Linked DNA regions of Homo sapiens: regions 2 and 3 are each linked to region 1. Evidence: promoter capture Hi-C in 16 types of primary human blood cells and fetal thymus (Javierre and others, 2016). All regions are on one chromosome and are shown on one strand. The core of a region is centred on a gene start or on the middle of the fragment in contact, and the rest is flanking DNA. Distances in the headings are between cores, read along the strand shown.

Region 1 (3,723 bases), core at 489-2,988:
GTCTACTATCCCACATCCCCAGATATAACTGCCTCTCCCTCCTTTTTTATCCATCTTTCCATTAAATCATATCCTTTCTTCCTTTATTCTTCCAACTCCTTAGCTTCTCCTTCCCTACATCTCCCCTTTTATCACTGGCCCTCGCATTCTTCTCAATTTCCCTGAGGAGAGGAGGCCAATAAAGACAAGTTTGGGGACTTCAGTGATGACATAGTCATTAATCAACCAAAGAAGCAACGGTCAAAAGAAACACTTTCAGGGGCATTAGGGACAGAGTTGAACTGAAGCGGGTGAGGAGGTTGCTGTGGGTCCAGAGTGTGGGAAGGGAAGCTGTCTCCCTCTGGACCTGGGTATATCACAGCCATGATGAGGGTCACACTCAACATCAAGATGGCTTCTTTCTTACACAGAAAATTTACAGATGATTAACCTCAAAGCACCAAGGGACAGGTGATCAGCACCAGCATCAGGGTGGAATGGCCCTAGGCAGTGGGGTAAAGTGAAAAATGGAACACCCCTCTTGCCCCATCCACTGAACAAAATGCAAGAGCCAGCACCTCTCCAGCTCTTGTAAGGCATGCCCACCATCCATATGTTTATGACAAATAGCATGGGAAGGATAGGAGGGTGGTGGAATCTGGGACAAGAGCCTTTCCCCCTGGTTTTTCAGCCTAGTGAAACCCCACTCCTATTGACCAATGAGGGCAATGTTCACAGAGAAGTGATGGGAAAGATTATACCTCCAATGGGCAGTGAGGGGTGATCACAGAAAGAGAGGAAGAAATTGGATGGGCCAGCAGTCTCAACTGGACAAGCACAAAGGCCTCGGAGTGTTGTGGCCAACAAAATGTGCCATCCCTTCTTACAACTGTGGGTGCCAGGCAGGCAGAGCTCCTGCACCAAGCAAGCCTCGCTGAACCTCACGCCATGCACCACACGGAGGCAGCAAGTCTCGGAGGGAAGAGCAAGGAAGCCTGACCCAGTGGGGATTTTTGGGTCCCTTTCCTCCATCTAGGTGGCTCTGCAGGGTACCTGGCAAGGGAATGAATGAAAACACAGGTAAGTTCTCAGCCACCGGCTTAAGGGCTAGGTGTATATGAATACAGACAATGGAGCTGAGCTGGTCACTGGGAAAAGCCACAGGAACCAGCGGGACTTAAATGAGGCCTTGAATTCCTGGGTCCAGACAGGGGGCACAGCATGGGCAGTGGTGCAGAGGAAGACGAGGGGCATAAGGAGGCCTCCCGTCTGCTGGGAAGCATGTATGGAGGGCAGATGAGGAGCTCAGGTACTTGACAAAAGTTTCCACCACCTGAGAGCCAGGCTCTGAGGGCCAGGATGGGGCTGGGAACCCGTGATGGCCTGCTGAGAACTGGCAGGAAAGTAGCCAGAGGCCAACTTTTATGTGAAATCTCTTGATTTCTAAATATTAGCAACTAACTCTAAATTTTAAAAAACAGCTCAAAGACCTGCTCCAAGAGAGGAATGCGTGGGCTAGTATTCAAAATGTATGTGTAATATTTTATTTCTTAAAAAGTAGGTGGTGAGATGTCAGCAGCAAATCTGTTCATTCTTGGTGAAAAGTCCCAAATATACATTATTATATCGTATTGTCACCTTTTCTGTATATTTAACATAGGTTATAATTTTTTAATAAATTAAATTTGGTGGGGAAAAAACATGCAAACTAACAAAACACATTCACAGGCTGGACCCAGGATTAAGAGCTCTGATTTTCCATTTCTGCTCCCAATCTAGTGGTCCAGTGGGGGAGATAAAATACAAGACATGTTAGGTGCTGTGCATAGTAAATATGCAGAGTGCCATAGAAAGGAAAATGCTTCTGAAGGATCCATTCCCACAGGGGACTCATGGGGTCCTTGCATTTTGGCTGGATATCAAAAGATGGGTAGGATTTCAACAGACAGGAATGTGAGTGAAATTATTCCAGGCAGAGGCAATGCAGTCTGCAAAGACCCAGGTGAGAAAGGGGTCCATTTTAAGCAGCAATGAGACCAGACCAGAAAGCCCAAGGCCAGGGGAGACATGGAAGATACACCTGAAAAAAATGATGGGCACAGGCAGGATCACCTGGGGTCATCCCTGGAGACACCGTGCCTGCTTCCTTCATTGCCCTCAGAGTAGGAATTCTGTGCCCCACACCCCCTTAAAGAAGACTTGACATTCAATTACTTCACATATAACATGGCTCATCTTCTCTCAAAAATTGGACTCTACAGGAAACGAATGTCTCCTTTAGCAATGAATATTGATGGTGATGCTAAAAGCTGGGACATCATTCACTCTGCAATGGGCATTGTTCAGCTGTCCCTGGAAGATTACCTTGGCAGCATGTTGTAGGATGGACTGAAAGAGATGAAGAGGATACTTGAAGAATTTAGGTAAGAAATGAAGGCCTGATTTATGTGTTGGTAACAAAACAGACTACAGGGGCAACTGCGGCAGGCCTGAGACAGAATGGCCGCTAGTTTAGACAGGACTGGGTGTGGGCACAGAATTCCCAAGCACACACTTTCTCAAGCCAGAAACCTGGATGGCAGCCCCCCACTCCGCCCACCTATCATTCAGTGCTACGAACTTTACCTCCACAACACCTCTTGAATATGTCGTCTTCCTCCCTGGTAACATCATTCCTACTCGTACCCCCAACAGGCCTCCTTGTCTTGGAGAATCACCCATGAAACCTATCCTCAGCAGTGTTGCCAGAGTTCTCTCCAAACTAGTCTCACCATGTCACTCCCTTCCTTAAAACCAACCAATAGGGGGAGCCCCAGGACTGTCAGGACGAGCCTGAGAGCCTTAGCAGAACATAGAGGGCCTCTGAAGCCCTGGGCCCTGCCTGACACTCCAGACTAATTCTCACCAATCCCTGCCCTGTCCCCAGATTCTCCTACTTTGTGCCTCAACAATTTTCCAAACTCAGCGCTTCCTGCATGCAGCATGCTTTTATATCCACCCAGGCCGGTGCATGGTGTTCCTTCCGCTTAAAGGGTGCCCAGCTCTCCTGCCAGCACATCCTTCCCAGCTCCTTATTTACTATCCAATATGTCTCATTTTACAGCCTCTGTGTCTTGTGCATATCGAGTTGCACTCTCACTGATTTTTCATTTATATATCCTGTTCCGCACCCCTACACTGCCGTGTCTTGAGGACAGTAACTCACCATGTCATCTCTCTGTCCCCAGTGACTGACACAAAATAGACACATGGGCTGATGGAGGGATGGATGGATGGAAGGATGAAACACAAGTAAACTCATCTGTTAGAATGGAGAGAGGAAGGGATAGACAGTCAGGGAGCAGAATGCTTTGAATGACAAAGTAAGAAAGAATTCACAGATGACTTTTCAAGGTGTCCATGAACCTGAAGAAGCTAGATCATCATAAAGAGATCCAGGAGAAAGAGAAGGCGCACGGAGTGTATGGAGCTGAGAATGAACTCATTTGTGTGATATGAAGAGTGAGTGGGGTTGTGAGAGGCCTACAAGCAGGGAAATGGAAAGGCTGATGAAAGTGAAGCCCAGCTGCCAAGGTTATAAAGGGACTGGGAATTAAATCCAAAACCTGAAATGGCACAAGGCCCAGAGCATTTTTATACTATAAGAAAAAGAAAATTTGTTTTAAAAATTAAATTCAGAAGAGAATCTCACACTCTTAGGCAACTCAAGTGAGGATCACTCAACATCTCTGGCTACATGTTCTT
Region 2 (3,723 bases), core at 580-3,079, 350 kb after region 1:
TTGCACTTTCACACTTTTTAAAATTTCGAATTCCTGTAATCTCACAGTTACCAAATTGATCACCTATTAAGTTAACTGCATCATAGCACTCACTAGGAGCCTCCATGGCATCAGGTCCAAAAATGCTTTGGCACTGCATATATCTGGATCTGCACCCCTTCCTGAAACAACGGCCTTCATACTTGCAAGGGGTTCCATCCTGCTTATAAACGTCATTTGGGCAGGAACTTGAATTCCCGTCGCAGTACTCTGCAAGGTCACATTCATTTCCTTCCTGCCTACACACGTATCCAGATGGACGAAACCGACAATCATGACAGCAAAGTCCAATGCTACAGTTGGCACCTGGTTGCAACTTACAATTTGATTGGCAACACCGATCTTTCTGACACTCCTCTGTGGAACCACAGTCACATTCCTCATTGTCCTCCACAATTTTGTTTCCACATCTCTTAAGCACATAACCTAGTCCTGGGATATTATTTAGACATGTTGCTCCCGAAGAGATATGTTTAAAAAAAGAGATATAACTGCAATTGCTAAACCCAGTGCGTCCTGAGCCCATGATGCAATTAAGCCTACCCCTACATTGGCAGTATTGTTCATCATGTGACATTCCTACAGCATGACCCAGCTCATGAGCAGACCAGGTAGCAGGGGCAAGGATATTTGTATCTAGTAAAGTACTCACTGATCCAGCATATTCTAGAGAACACACTTTTCCAAACGACCATGCAAGAGCATCATTATATTTTCTTTGAAGATATAAATGTGCCCAATCTGATGACAGGCGAGCATTTAATACACTTTTTTTATATATTACAAATCTGCCTAAAACTTCAGCTAACTCTGGATATCCAACGCGTATTTTGTTAAAATCTGTCCATACTTCAAGAGCCTTTAAGTGTATCCTCATACGAACATCTTGAAAGTAGGTGTCCATAATCCCAGTCAAAAGAATGGCATCATGTATGACTTGAGAAAGATTGTTGTTCACAAACCTATACCTACTTTGATCAAAGAGTAGGATCAATTCCAAGTACTTTGGGTGTTTATAGGATCCAGGAAAGTCCCTTAGCCTCGCCTTATTCTCATAAGGGGCCATCTGCCATTCTATTTCATCATCACTTAAGCCACAAACCTGATTCCCAAACTGCTCTTTCTTCAGGAGATAGACGACATGTTCAAAACTGGGAGAGGCCTTGAGGGGCTCAATTTGGTAATGTTTGGCATCAATGTTAAATACACCTCGGAGACCCCCCATGCATGTGCTTATAGTAGCTTTAGAGTCCAGAGACTCTTTCACGGAGCCCATGTAGTTGCAGTCCTTTGGTATGTAAGGATGATCCTCCAGCAGTTCCCCATGTTCTGTGAAGGAGAAAACGCGCAGATGTCGGGGCAACAGAAGTCTCTTGGGCCACAAATGGAGGACGTGCTTCTTGCCTTTTAACTGCAGTAGGTAGGACACGGGACTGACCACACCCTGCACCTCTCCCCGGAAGCTCAGCTTCTCAGGAATGGTGACTTCATACGAGTCAAACTCCCCTTCAGGGTGAAAAATTACATCTTCGCCAAGAGACTTAAGGAGCATTGTCGGAACTAGTAGAAGGAGCAAACGGCATTGGGAGAGGAAGATCTGCACTGACCTCATGGTCTGTTCCCTACTCAGCCTCAGTTTGCTATTCAGTCCCTGCAACTCTGGCCTCGCGAGTCAGATTTCTGGGGGCCGCCGCTAGAGGCGCCTGAGCTCAAAACCCGGCTCCCCTGGCAGGGTTTCCGGGGGAGCCCGTAGCCTCCCAGGGCTCGGTCTAGCTGGCGTCCGCAATGCGCGCGTGACCTGTCCAACGCATCCAGTTCGTTTTCCGGGCCGTACCGTTGGGCGCAGGTGGAAGAAAGGAGGGAAACGTGGGCGAGAATAAAAGAGAAAAGAGGGGCTGTTGGCACGTGGGTTGGAGAGAGGGTAGAGAACACCATCGGAAATGGAGAAGGAATAGAGAAATAGGAAGAACAAAGGAGAACGTGTTAAAGGCTCACTGTATCTTTGCCTTTACTCTGTGTCTTTACACCTTAGGACACAGGTTGGAATCCGATGTTTTATGGGCCACTGTCCTAACTTCATTGTTGGACATTTCCCAGTTTTCCACTAGGGTTGCTTGTGGCAAAAGAAAGGAGCATCAGAACCAGCAAGAGTGGAAACAGCCTGAAAGTATCAGCGTAGACTCCACACCCCCAGCCCCACTCTGGGCAGTTCCTCTGTCTTCGGCTGCGGCTTCTTTTTAGAGAAGGCCCTGAACCTTAGTTGTGGGCCCAGGCAACAGAAAGGTCCTGAGCTCATTTTGCCTGGGAGTGCTTTCTGCTGTTTGTCTTTGGGGTGCCAGGGGTCAGTGTAATTTTTGTGTGTCCATGTGCAATGGTGGGAAGAACCTAGAAAAAGTGCCTGTTATAAGAGCAAACCCAAGTGCTTTCTGAGAAAGGTAGATAGCTGGTTATGTTCCTAGTCGAGCGATGAGGCTGACTCCACAAAGGAAGAAGCCTCTGGCTCAGAAAATGGAAGGGTTTATCGTCCGTAAAAGGGCAAATCGGAAGGTCATGAGGTGATTCTGAGGGATTCTGATAAGAGAGGAATATTTTCAGTTTTGTTCCTGGGAGATTCCATCTGGCTGAATTACAAGGAAAGGTTAAAAAGGAACAGGCTTGAGTCAGGGAGACTAGTTAAAAGCTCTTGTACCAAGCAATGTTGTCTGTTGGCAGAAAGCATGGCCTTAGGGCTGATAATAAGCAGTACTTATGGAAGACTGGCTCGTTTCATGCTACACACCCCGCTATGCTCTGCATAAATCAGCCCATTAAATCTTCACCATGACCCTAGGTTATAGGTACTACTATTATCACCCATACTTTGCACATGAGGACATGAAAACCGTACCATGGTTCAGAAGGTGGCGTCAGCTGAAGCAATCCCTGTGAACATTTAGGCAACTCTACCCGGAGCCTGTGTTCTTTACTAGTCAACTCTGTTGTCTCTTTAGGGAAGGACAAAAGTTGACAGCTCCAAGAGATTTAAAACCACTTAGACTCTGCTGGACTTAATGCTTGCATGGATTCTCCCAGAATGAAAGAGGCAAAAATGAAAAAGAATGTTGATGTTTCTGGCTTAGGTGTATGTGTGTGTCATGGTTCTAACCACTCAAAGAAGAAAAACATCAGAACAAATAGATTTAGATAAAGGAAATAAATATGAAAAGCTCTGCTTGCAAAATGTAGATTTCCAGGTGCCAGTAAAGGAGCATTGAAGAAGGGATTTCTCAACTGCAGACGAGTAGGCAGCATCCTCTGGGCTGAGATGCCTGAGTTGGAGCTGAACTGGAGTCCTCTGCACAGTGGTGCTGATTGAAGCCATAAAAGCTGATGATGATGCCTCATGGGATGGTGAGGAATGAGCAGAGAAAGACCAGGTTGGATCGCTCAGGAATAGTAGGATTTAAGGTCAGGCTGAAGGAAAGAAGCTTGCAATGACCTGTGAAGTAGTGGATATTGATATAAAAAGAAAGGCAGGGTAACAGGTGATTGCAGAAGCACTTCATGAACGATGTTATGACCAAAAGGTGAAATGCTGAGCAGAGTTCCAGAAACACTGCAATGAGCACAAAGGAGGTTATAGAAACTTTAGTGCAAACTGTTTCGGGGCACTGCTGATGAGCAAAGCCACATACCAGGAGGTTG
Region 3 (3,723 bases), core at 807-3,306, 260 kb after region 1:
CATTTTTAAAAATAAAGAACATGGCTTTATCTTTTCCCCATTAGCAAACAACACATGAGCTATTAGAAAATCAATGCAAAACTAGAAAATAAGAAGTAAATCCCATCTCCAGGAGATAATTTGGTGAGTAGCCTACAGATATCTTTCTATGCACCTCTCTCTGTGTACAATTTTATAAAAATAAGATCATATAGTCCTATAGCCTGGTTTTGTTTCTCAGAAACAGATTAATTGTAATACATTGTCTTGCACTCACATAACTTTCATGCATTTTTTATTTTTTCTTTAGTATAAATTCTCATATATAGGGTTGTGGCATCACACAACATGCACATTGTCATTTTAATACCCTTTGTTAAAATGTATGGGCTGTGATATTTACCTCATTAATAGGGCACTAAAAGGATTGGTTCCCTAAGCTCCCAGAGAATGCTTAATTTTGTCAAGTTTTTGGCTAATTTTGGTATATTAAAGAAGAACCTTAGTGTTTTAAAATATTTTATAATTACTAATGAAGTTGAACATCTTTTTATATAATGATTTGCTTTTAGTATTTGGTGAATTTTCATTTTACAGTTTTGCACATTTTTCTATTTCATTGTTTGTGAGATCTTTTTTGTATGTTTATTTGTGAGATCTTTTTTGTATGTTTATTGCCTTTCACGTGTTACTAATAGTATTTCTCAGTTTGTATTTTTCTCTTACTTATTATAATTTTTGCCATTCTGAAATTTTCAAAAATATTGTTATTTTTTATGTTTTTAAAAATAATTTTTAAATTTATATCAAAAGACTGGCCATTACTGTCACATAAGGTTAAAATATTTATCACTGTTCTATTTTCATCTGTCTGGGCTTTGTTTTAACATAAGTATGAAACTGAGTTCTGGATTTCCCTCCCAAATAATTCTTAAAATGAGTTAATTCATTGAATTCACATTTAATCATACTTTATGATTAAAAAATCTGAATATACAATCTAACTCTCAAATAATGGATTGCTTAAAGAGAATAATGTAAATGATGACTTTTCTGGAAAATCAATTCTGGGGTCCATCTGAACACTTTAAGGCAACATTAACTGAGAATGAGACAAAGCTTGGAGAGTGTGGATGTGACCTTCCCCACCCCTTACTTCTTTTTAAATCATTGCGTGAACCTTGCACTTTGCTAAACTTTCCTTCCAAAAGTAATAGTGTATTTTCAATGTCCTCAAACCCCTTTAAAACGCAAACAGAATTTCTCTGTCAAGGTGACCATCTGGGGGAAGGGAGAGGCAGCATCTTTTTTACTAATCTGTGAATAATTTTTAGTGAACTGATATTCATTGAATGTCTGCATGTCATGTTCATAAGTAAGCTGCACTGGGCCGGGTGTGGTGGCTCATGGCTGAAATCCCAGCACTTTGAGAGGCTGAGGCAGGTGGATCACCTGAGGTCAGGAGTTCAAGACCAGCCTGGCCAACATGGCACAACCCTGTCTCTATTAAAAAATACAAAAATTAGCTGGGCGTGGTGGCAAGTGCCTGTAATCACAGCTACTCAGGAGGCTGAGGCAGGAGAATCACTTGAACCTGGGAGGCAGAAGTTGCAGTGAGCCAAGATTGCACCATTGCTCTCCAGCCTGGGAGACAGAGCAAGACTCCATAAAAAAACAAAAACAAAAACAAAAACAGAAACAAAAACAAAAAACCTGCACTGTAGATCTCATGAATGCATGTTACAAATGAAGACACTGACACTTATGATTGAGTAACTTTTCTAAAGTTTCCCAGCTACCAGACTGCAGAGCCAAGATTTAACCCAACAGCTTGACACCAAAGCCAATGCTCTTTGCAGTGAAGGAAGAAAAGAAGGTAAATAATTTAAATCAAACAACACAGCAACAGAAAGCCTGACAAGCCTCACTAGAAATACAATTTGTCATTTCTGGCCTGGCTAATAGCTGACAGAGGAAAACAGATGTTTAAAGAAAGTCCCCCATCATCAACCGCGAGGAGGATTACCTGTTTGGCAACCAAGACTCTAAGGGCCCCTGCCTTCTTCAGTGTCTCCAGTGGTCCCAGTCAACGTTTCTGGAGCTTTTATATCTTCTTGCCTCAGGAATTAATAATCTTTACTTTAGTCACAAAGCGATAATATTATTTGAGAAAAACAATCCATCCATAAAAGTCTTATCTACAGTGAAAAAAATGAATCATATAAGAGACGGCTTCAGAATGTACGTAAGGTGTGCTTTGACTAGCCAGGAAAAGAACCTCTCCCTGTGTGCAAACAGAATCTTTTCTTCACATCACGTTATTAAAACTGACAACATCCTGTAATCTGTTATAAGCCCATCTTCCTCTCCCCTTATGTTACTTTTTCATGGCTGTCTTTTTATGCCTTGGTATGGTGGATTTCCTTTATTTCTCTTTTATTTCTAGAAGGATTTTCTGTCAGGGTCAGGAATAGGTTATGACCCATGCGGTGAGACTTGAGACCCACACACAGATTTTCCTTCCTAAAGCACCGACTCCACTCCTTCAACATGCGTGAGTTTCCTCAGAGATCTACTATTTGAGCTTCTCCCGCAGAACATGGATGATCATGTCAAAATAGCTTACATCAACAGAGTGTGTTACAATAACGGGTTTTCAGTGAAGTCATCAAATAAGATGCCAACAAAATCCTTGTGAGCAGCATAGGACACATATCCCCATTACACACTCAAGAAACCCAACCTTAAGAGAGATTAGAAACCTTCCGAGGTTCACAACACTGGTCAGCAGTGGACCTGGACACTGAACCTTGTCCTTCTGACTCCAAATATAGGTGTTTGCCAAAATACAGTTCTACTGAAAAATAGGCTATTTGAAAAGAGTAACAAGATTTTCTTTTCCAGTATAGATGGCAAAGGGTTAGGTTGTAGGTGCCAGAGATGACTCAACTTTAAACTACAGATTTAAGTCTGTAAAGGACCTTTATGTCTGGAAACTTTAAGTCTGGAAGGGACCATAGTAGTTATCAAATCTTACTCTTTTGTTCTACTGGTGAGGAAATTGAGGCCTAGAGAAACATTGTGACTAGTTTAATGCACAGACAGTTGTGGGTGAAGCTGATATCAGAAGCCAGCTTCCTTGCTCCCAGCTCACTGTTGTTTGGAAAATGCTACTCAACCTTTGTTATTAGATTTTTGCATCAGTTGTGTAAATTCATGGTAGGACATGAGAAAGTAATGCTTTCATGGTTCACAAAGAACATTTTAAAGAATCTCTCCCATCAGAATGTTTGACACAAACCTCTTTCTCTTTAGGCAGCTGGATGGGAATCATCATTGCTTCATGGCACAATGGCGTACAAAGATGTTAACTCCAAGCCTTTCAATTTCAGAAGTCCTGGTCCAGATGTAAGACAGAAAAGTTTTAACAAAATGGGTGATTAGATAGATCTCCTGTGTTTCCAGCAGCCATCCCAACCCTTAGTCTGCTATCCCCATGCCATTATCCAGATTTAAAGACTTGAGATGAGAGAGAAGAGAGTAGAACAGATTAGAAAACAAGATGTTCATAGGACTTTTAAGAGGTCTCTTACTGAACCCTCACATTGACTAGCTCCAAATTAAGGCATTGATAGGACTCACATAAACCTTTGAGATGTAAGAATGTAAAGGACCAGAAAATTGTCTGAATCAAAAAGGTCCACTGAATAGTAAGTTTATTTAAAAAAAAAAAGTCTACATATA

The links. Contacts are between HindIII fragments. The CHiCAGO score rates a contact against its expected background, and 5 or more counts as called.
Region 2: a contact is called between the fragment with the promoter of ADAM30 here and a fragment that was not itself captured in region 1, in 1 of 17 cell types (M2 macrophages). The highest score is 5.7, in M2 macrophages.
Region 3: the fragment with the promoter of REG4 here is called in contact with a fragment that was not itself captured in region 1 in 1 of 17 cell types (M0 macrophages); the score reaches 5.7 in M0 macrophages.

Annotation. Positions count from the first base shown.
Region 1 is chr1:119,547,036-119,550,758 of GRCh38, forward strand. No RefSeq gene overlaps it. Among named protein-coding and RNA genes, the nearest start is that of HSD3B1, 42 kb to the left of the region's middle. RefSeq lists an enhancer at 2,651-2,945. The HindIII fragment of the contact is 5,511 bases long and covers 1-3,723 here.
Region 2 is chr1:119,894,686-119,898,408 of GRCh38, forward strand. ADAM30 (ADAM metallopeptidase domain 30) reads right to left here and starts at 1,830. Exons shown (of 1, transcript NM_021794.4): 1 at 1-1,830. The coding sequence starts at 1,651. The HindIII fragment of the contact is 9,342 bases long and covers 1-3,504 here.
Region 3 is chr1:119,809,404-119,813,126 of GRCh38, forward strand. It overlaps REG4 (regenerating family member 4), which reads right to left and starts at 2,057. Exons shown (of 6, transcript NM_032044.4): 1 at 2,006-2,057. The HindIII fragment of the contact is 5,277 bases long and covers 1,097-3,723 here.